2 separate regions of the Homo sapiens genome follow, and region 1 is linked to region 2. Evidence: promoter capture Hi-C in 16 types of primary human blood cells and fetal thymus (Javierre and others, 2016). All regions are on one chromosome and are shown on one strand. The core of a region is centred on a gene start or on the middle of the fragment in contact, and the rest is flanking DNA. Distances in the headings are between cores, read along the strand shown. Region 1 holds the start of VCAN-AS1 (VCAN antisense RNA 1). Region 2 holds the start of RPS23 (ribosomal protein S23).

Region 1 (3,977 bases), core at 748-3,247, 1.3 Mb after region 2:
TTAGAAACCTTATTATTTATATCCAAAATGGAGTGAAACAAACAAAAGGAAATATCACTCCCAAATATTATCAGCTCATTTTACTTTTTATAGATGCTTTGGCTAAGGGTGATTTGGTTGCATAAGGTGGGATAGGGCTTCATTTGTAAATCCACTATCTGAGGCTGTTTATTCAAGTGCAGAGGAAGCCAGACAGGCAGGGAACGTTATGGAATCATTTATATTTATCTGTCAGTATACCTCCTGGCAAAATGATTTTCACAACACTGTTTTCAACTAAAGACTATAGTGTCTATGGGACAGCCCAATTAAGGAGCTATCAGAAACTCTTACATGCTTTCATCATACTGTTCTGTCTGACAAACCTCTCCAACAAGTGGTTTAAAATCAAATTGTGGAGCTCAGAGATTTAAAGCTGTCATATTGCTTCCTTCTCTCTTGGACCCTCTGGAGTAAGATTCTCACGAGGCGATTCTCTGGGCTCCACATTGTTCCTTTCTTCAATGATTCCCCCCAGCACCATCAAAGCTGACCCTTCCCCACTGGACACTGGTGTCTTCAGTGGATCAGACGCATTTACTTCAAAGGGAACCATCACTTTAGATGGCCATGTATAGAGGCCGAGGACTGAATAAAACTGACATTGCCATTCCATTTTTAAAATATTGGGGAGTTTTTGGAATATTTAGTTTGTTCTGCAGAAAAAGCCCTGACTTTATTCCTAAACATTTTAAAAAACATTTTCTGCATCTCCTTCACTTTTTTTACTTCTGTCATCTCTACATTGTCAGGACTCAAATGTCACACCCCGTGAGGCTGCTGGCTTCCCTGCTTCCTGGGAAATTATCACAGCTTCCTTCTTCTCACTTTCCATTCTACAGTTGGGAGAAAACAGAGAGACTTTCTCTCTTCTACATTTGTCCAAATCTGGTCAGGAAGTTCTAGAACAAGTTACTAAATCACAGATTCATAAATATCTTATTTTCTAGCTCTAACCAACTCATCTTGCTATGATAGTTGTGATATAAACTAAAAAAAAAACTAATTGATAGGACAATTAGTACAATTAATTGTACAATTAACCTTCATTACTTAAATTCTTCTTAAAAATATTTCTGGAAGATAACTCAATTTTGCATTTTGTTTTTCATTTTGGTAAGCATAGTTCAGCTTTGGCAACTTAATACCTACAATTTCCAACACCCACTTGTCCCCCTTCACCAGTTGATTCGAGTTGATGCACAAGAATGTCCAGATGTGTGGATTTGACTTTAAATCCAGAGGCTCCTTCTTCTTCTTTCATAAATAAACACATCAGTCTGTCAAGCAAAGTATTGTGAGAAAAGCCAGCTTTGAAAAAGGTAGAAACAATAAAGAAATAGCCCTTACCCAGGAAGAGACACTTAAAAGGGGCAGAAAAAATGGAGTAACAAATCACGGACCATAAACCATTATTGTTTTTCTGCAGCAATGTATCATTATTACCCTTTCATAAACACAAAGGTTCTTATTCCCCTTCCTCTCCCAGATGTCTTGGACATTGAAAAGAGAATACGGAGTATTCATTAATTCCAGTGCTTTCTAAGCTTGTTGTAGATTTCTGCTCATTTGAAAGGATTTCACATGATTTGACAGAAAAACAATGCAAAACACAATCCCCACAACAAAAATTTAAGTTTTCCTTTTCCTACCTGAAGATCTTAGAAGACTTTCTATACAACATTTGCAGATGGATGTATGTCAGCTGTGATGTGGCATTAGCTCTAAGTCAAATACCATTTCTCTGTGAACAAGTCACACTGCATATCAACATTAATTTAATTATGTTAAACTTCACAGGCTTTATTGTATTAATCCAAAAGCCAAGGAAAACATGCTCTTTTCTCATTCTTTAACACATTACTCATGAGTGGAAGAATTCTCAGATTCCCTTCTGTGAAAGACTACTGAGTTCTTAATGAAAATTTTGACTTGTGTTGTAGTTTAATTTGATTTGGAATCAAGAACTGATTCTTCTGATTCTAAATGTGAGATATTATGAGTCATAGAGTAGTTCTAGAACGCAACTCTGCTCTCTGCCTTGTCTTTCAGTTCAGATAGCTAGTGGTGGGTTGAACAGCTGGAAGAACCATATTTACTCACTACTGGAAAATCATTTTATAATTGACAAGATTATTATAAAGAATAAGAAAAGGAGATTTAGTGCAGTAGCATCTCACAGATGCTTTTCCAACAGTCTTCTGTGCAACTTTAAAATCTCATGCAGATATTTAAATCTAATTGCTAATTAGTTTAAGGCAATGCATAACCATGGAAAAGGCCAAAAAAAAAAAATATATTGAATGAGCTTTGGCAGTCTCTCCTTACATTTGGATCGTCAGCCCTTCATGACTGGAGACCTGTGCAAATAAGCTTGGGGTAAAGGAGCCTACTGGCACCATTCATTCTATGGATTAAATGCAAGTTGCTCTCTGGGCCTCTGCCTGAGGCCCCCTCTCTCACAGTGGTCTCACAGTGCGAGTAACTCACATCCTTCTGAAAATGCTGTTGATAATTGCTGCTTTGTAGGGCAGTGAGCTCACACTATTACACAAGATTAGTGCTGTTCTCAAGAGCTGGCCAGATTGTCTTTCCCGCACAGAGGTTTGCCAGCTAGGAAAATAATGGGCATATTGCCACTTTAACAACTATCAGGAGACCCCAAGTTAGTTTTTCTTCCCTTCAGCATATTCATGTTTGTAGGATCCAACTCCAGGCTGCCAGCATAGGGTAGTGACACCAAAACAAACGTCTCTTTCTCCTTTAAAACAAAGCTGCTCTTTTCTTTTCAGTTGTCGGTCAACGAATTACCCTGTTCAACTAAAAGACAGCAGCAAAACCATAACCTCCCTTAAAACATAAATAAAGAAGGACCCAGACTAGACTAACCTTAAGCAAGTACAAGGATCAGAAGAAGGTTTATCTTTACCTTGCAGGGAAGTCATTTGCCCCTAACAAACAAGACAAAGTTAAATGCACCACTCCCCCTCCAGACTGCAAACAAATGCCTATTGTGTACACCAGCCATCTAGGGATAAAAAAGTCATTTTAAAGGTACCAAATGTTTTGATTTCTGTAATAAGTAGTCCTCATAGCCTCTTTTCAGATAACCATTTGACCTGTGTTCTGAAAGGCTGAGGCTAACCCCAAGTGGTTATTCTGTTTGTTATTTAGTGAAAAGATGGTTTCTTATCGGCATATGTTTCAAACAGGTACCTGTCCTCTTGGGAAAGTGTTTTCTGTTTGGAATTTGCTTTCCTACTTCGGTGGTTATCTGCTTGCCCTTGGTATCCAGTGCGTTTGGATTGAATTTTGTAGCTCTGGGAGTACAGCAGTGGCAATATGGGCCCCAGGTGATGAAAAGAGTTTGCGCACAAAGAAGTCAGCTCTTACTGCAGGTGTCATGTTTTCATAGCTAATCTAGATAAATTTTTACGGAAAAACAAACTAACTGTGACTCACGCTGCAGACATTGCATTTGTGTGCTTAGGTGTTTATCTATGATCTGACCTCTCCTAAGGATTTTAGGTGGATGTTGCACATTTGGCTTTGGTTCTGATGCAATTTCACCATTGATGTAAATCATCGGATAATTTTAAAAGACAGAGTGGAAAAGAAGAAACTACCGTAGGTGAACATTTTAGACAGAAAGAAAATTCAGATTATGGATAGAATGGCTTGCAACAGAATAGAATGCAGTCAGGTTGGTAAATACTGGTTCACCGAGGTCTGTCTTCTTGCAAAGTGTTCTCTTTGTGTTTTCACTCACAAAACTGAGAGAACATATCCCAGACAATCTTTTATTTTTTATTTTTATTTTTTTATTTTTGCCACATGGAGTACATAATTACGATTTTGGGGGACATATTCCAAGTTCTCTTTTGTTAAGTGGTGTAGCCGTTAATTCATAATGTAAGAATGGATATATATCACCACCT
Region 2 (3,876 bases), core at 199-2,698:
GGACACAGTGGCTCACGCCTGTAATTCCAGCACTTTCGGAGGCCGAAGCAGGCATTATCACCTGAGGTCAGGAGTTTGAGACTAGCCTGGTCAACATGGTGAAACCCCATCACTACTGAAAATACAAAATATTAGCTGGTGTGGTAGTGGGCGCCTGTAATCCCAGCTACCTGGGAGGCTGAGGCAGGAGAAATGCTTGAACCTGGGAGGCTAAGGTTGCAGGGAGTCTTGCGCTACTGCACACCAGCCTGGGTGACAGAGCTAGACTGTCTCAAAAAAAAAAAAAAAAAAAAAAAAAGTCTGGGTTAAAATGGCTCTACCATCAAATATGATAGAACTATATGAAATTATTATTTTAAAAAGTCAAAACCAGTCAAATACTGGCAGTTTCATGTCTCAATCTTAGGTGTATGACCTCAATTAATTCTGATGCAAGTCACTTCTCTTCACCTTAGTTTTATCAAGTCGATAAAGTTCAATAGCTGACACGTGCCATTTACTTATAACAACTCCCACAGTAAAGGTGTTTGTGTCCTTTACTTCATCATTGCTAGTATCTTCTCCAATTCCTTCCAGGCCAACGTTAAATTAAAACCTTAACTACCTAATTCCCAAAAACTAATTTTACCAACTTTTAAATAGAACAAACGCTTTGCAATTTTACCCCACAATGCCCAAATGAATACTACTACACAAAAACCTGCAATTACTTTCAAAACAAGAATTCGTAAGTTCATGTCTCGAATTCCTATAATAAACTAAAACTTGACGGGAGCAATGGACTTACACTTTTTCCAGCACGATTCCTTTTGCATGAGAAGCACCTCCAAAAGGGTTGGCCTTTAGGGCTGTGCCCAAATGAGCTTTCTTATACTGTTTATCATGCCACTTCTGGTCTCGTCGGTGACTACGGAGCTTCCTAGCAGTACGAAGTCCACGACACTTGCCTAAAAATTAAATATTTTAGTTCTTCCGTAAAAACACGCCATCTACGTGTTTCCCATCTTCTAAGACACTCGCCTCACCTGGAATAAACCCTTAAGCCGATTGGCTCTCGTACTATTTATTGGCCTGTGGGCCAAACATTTGGCCTTCAAGTTGCCCTGAACCGACTAATAAACGTTCGAAGAGGGCTCCGGAGAATGTGTTCTCCCGAAGGACGAGGCCCCGCTCGAATGCCCGGGAGGAAGCGCTGGCCTCCCTGCGTCCCTCGGTACCCCGACCTCGGCGGCCTCCACGCCTCATGGGCCCCTTCCGCGCCGGACCACGTGCCTCCTGGAGCGGCGCTTCCCCGGCCCTCCCCCATGGAGCCTCTCCATGGCATCCCCCGCCCTACTCTATTCGCATCCGCCCGCCCGTCCCCAAGACCCCAAGTCCCGCTTGCAGCGCCCTTAAACCGGCCACAACAGCTCACCCATCCTGTCGGCGCCACGGGCCTGAGCGAAAGAGAGAAGCACCGCAGGAAGGAGCCACAAGCCACCGCGAGCAAGCCCCGCCCAGCCAAGGACCCCGCGCCGCTGTCTGCGCCGCGCCTGACCCGAGGCTGGGGTCTCTCCTTTGAAAACGACGCGTTTGCATCACTTTCCTGAGCCAGAATCTGCGTCTTATTTAATTTGCAAGAAATTCAGAGATATCTAATTTGCATGGTTTTTTTTCCCCCTTTTTCTTTTGAATGCTGGAGACCGGAGGAACATGGACTACCAATCCCAGAATGCGTTTTATGGGACCCGCTCACCGCGCAGGCGCTCTTGCCCAAGCCACTGAGAGCGGGACGCGGGGCTAGGTCAGAGTAGGAAGGAGTCGCTGAGCTGAATCTTTGTGGAGTGGAGTGGGGCGAGAGTCCTCCGAGTAGTCTGGAAAATTAGACTTCTGAGCCTTAATTCATACTTATAAGCAGCTAGTAAATTGTAAAATATAGTGAAGCAATGTAGTGTAGTAACTAAAACCCCAAGCTTTGGAGCCAGATTGGGCCTTTAACCCTAAAGTTGCCGTTTATTTTGACTGGCGAGTCATTTACTTATAGATTTATTTATTTTTATTTTTATTTTTTTCTGAGACAGGGTCTCACTCTGTCTTCTAGGCTGTTGTGCAGTGGTGCGATCTTGGCTCACTACAACCTCCGCCTCCCGGGTTCAAGCGATTGTCCCACCTCAGCCTCCTGAGTAGCTGGGATTACAGGCTTCCACCATCACGCCTGGCTGATGTTTGTATTTTCAGTAGAGAGGGGGTTTCACCATGTTGGCCAGGCTGGTGTCGATCTCCTGACCTCGAGTGATCCGCCCGCCTCGGCCTCCCAATGTGCTGGGATTACAGGCGTGAGCCACCGCGCCTGGCCATTTAATTAACTCTTTAATACTGTTTCTCCTGTAAGATGAACTAGCTGTGAGAGGTTTCTGGGATATTGGTTCACTCAGCAAGGATGTTTAAAAATGCCTTCTATGTGCCAGACGCTGTTGTAGGTACCGGGAATATGGCGGTTAAATTAAGAGGGTGAAGGTTTCTGCTCTGATACAGTTTATATTCTAAATGTGAGAGGACAGACCAGTTAGATAGATGTAAATTAAATAATTAAATAGATGATTTTTACATACTGTAGAGCTATAGAGAAAATATAGCTGGATGGGTGATAGTGACTTGGGGATGGGGGTGGCTACTCTGGATAGGGTAGTTTAAGGTGACATCTCTGTGCAGATGTAGAATGGGCTAGTGCTTTCTAAGAACTGAAAGATCAGTGAAGAAGGGGAGCATAGTGACTGAGGAGTAGTGTGGCATTAGATGGGGTCTGAGAGTTACACAGGAACATGTGGAGCCTGTAGGCCATGGTAAAGCCTTTTTCTACTCTTCTGGTGATTTAAAGCCATTGTAAAGTTTTGAGCTTGGGAGTAGGTAGCAAAATAAGATTTATATTTTTATGGGGTTACTCTGGCTGTTGAGAGGAGAAAAAGACATGAATCTGGGAGGCCACTTGGGAAGGTATTGCAATAGTTCAGATGAGAGATGGTGATAGCTTGGACCCTCAGTGGAGACAGTAAAAAGTGGTTGGGTCAGATACACTGTTTGGTGGTAGAATGAACAGAATTTGCTCAGGACTGTAGGATGTGAGAGAGGAGTTAATTACAGCACTATGATTTTTGACCTCAGCACTTGGGTGAGTTGTAGAGTTGTGAGTTGTGAGTTGGGTGAGTTCCAAAGTGGGAAATACGAGGAGAGGAGCAAATTTCAAAGGAGGAAATGAAGAGTTCTGGTTTGGATGTGTTAAGTTTGAACTGTCAAACATCCAGGGATGTGAAGTGGACAGTTGGATATATGATAAGAAGCTGAGGAGTAATCAATGAATAAATAGTATTAAAACTGTGGCTCTAGTTGAGATAGCTTAGGTGATGACTGTAGGTAGAACAGAGATTAGAGTCCTGAGCACACCAAAGTTTAGTGGTACAGAAGAGAAGGCAGGTGAAGCAAAACAGATGAAGAAAGAGTGGCCAATGTTACACTCTGTTCAAAGCCAAGTGAAGAAGGGAGTGAGAAAGTGTGAAAAGAGATAAGATGAGGACTGAGAATTGCCTTTTGGACTTGAAAATGTGGAGATTACTGGTCACTTTGTCAAATGGGGACTCCATGGAGTACTGAAAGTGAAAGGCGATGGGATCGGAGTGAAGAGAATATGGGAGGGAAGGAAGTCTAGACAGCAACTATAGACAATTTTTGAAAGACATTTTTTATGTGCAGAGAAATGGCACCCTATTTGGAGGGGAATGTGGAGTTGGAGGGTTTTATTTTTAAGATGGCAACTTTTATGACATTTTTGTATGCTGATCAGGTTGAGAAAATTAAAAATGGGTTATTCAGCAGAGAAGGGATAATTGCAGGAGCAACTCC

What was found. Contacts are between HindIII fragments. The CHiCAGO score rates a contact against its expected background, and 5 or more counts as called.
Region 1: a contact is called between a fragment that was not itself captured here and the fragment with the promoter of RPS23 in region 2, in 2 of 17 cell types (fetal thymus and M0 macrophages). The highest score is 9.3, in fetal thymus.

Annotation. Positions count from the first base shown.
Region 1 is chr5:83,560,340-83,564,316 of GRCh38, forward strand. All of the region lies in intron 12 of VCAN (versican), which reads left to right. It overlaps VCAN-AS1 (VCAN antisense RNA 1), which reads right to left and starts at 1,975. Exons shown (of 3, transcript NR_136215.1): 1 at 1,692-1,975. LOC124901021 (a long non-coding RNA gene) reads left to right here and starts at 1,876. Exons shown (of 2, transcript XR_007058847.1): 1 at 1,876-3,093. The HindIII fragment of the contact is 826 bases long and covers 1,585-2,410 here.
Region 2 is chr5:82,276,906-82,280,781 of GRCh38, forward strand. It overlaps RPS23 (ribosomal protein S23), which reads right to left and starts at 1,449. Exons shown (of 4, transcript NM_001025.5): 1 at 1,415-1,449; 2 at 788-947. The coding sequence starts at 1,418. It also overlaps the pseudogene ATP6AP1L. RefSeq lists an enhancer at 1,440-1,769. The HindIII fragment of the contact is 8,285 bases long and covers 1-1,950 here.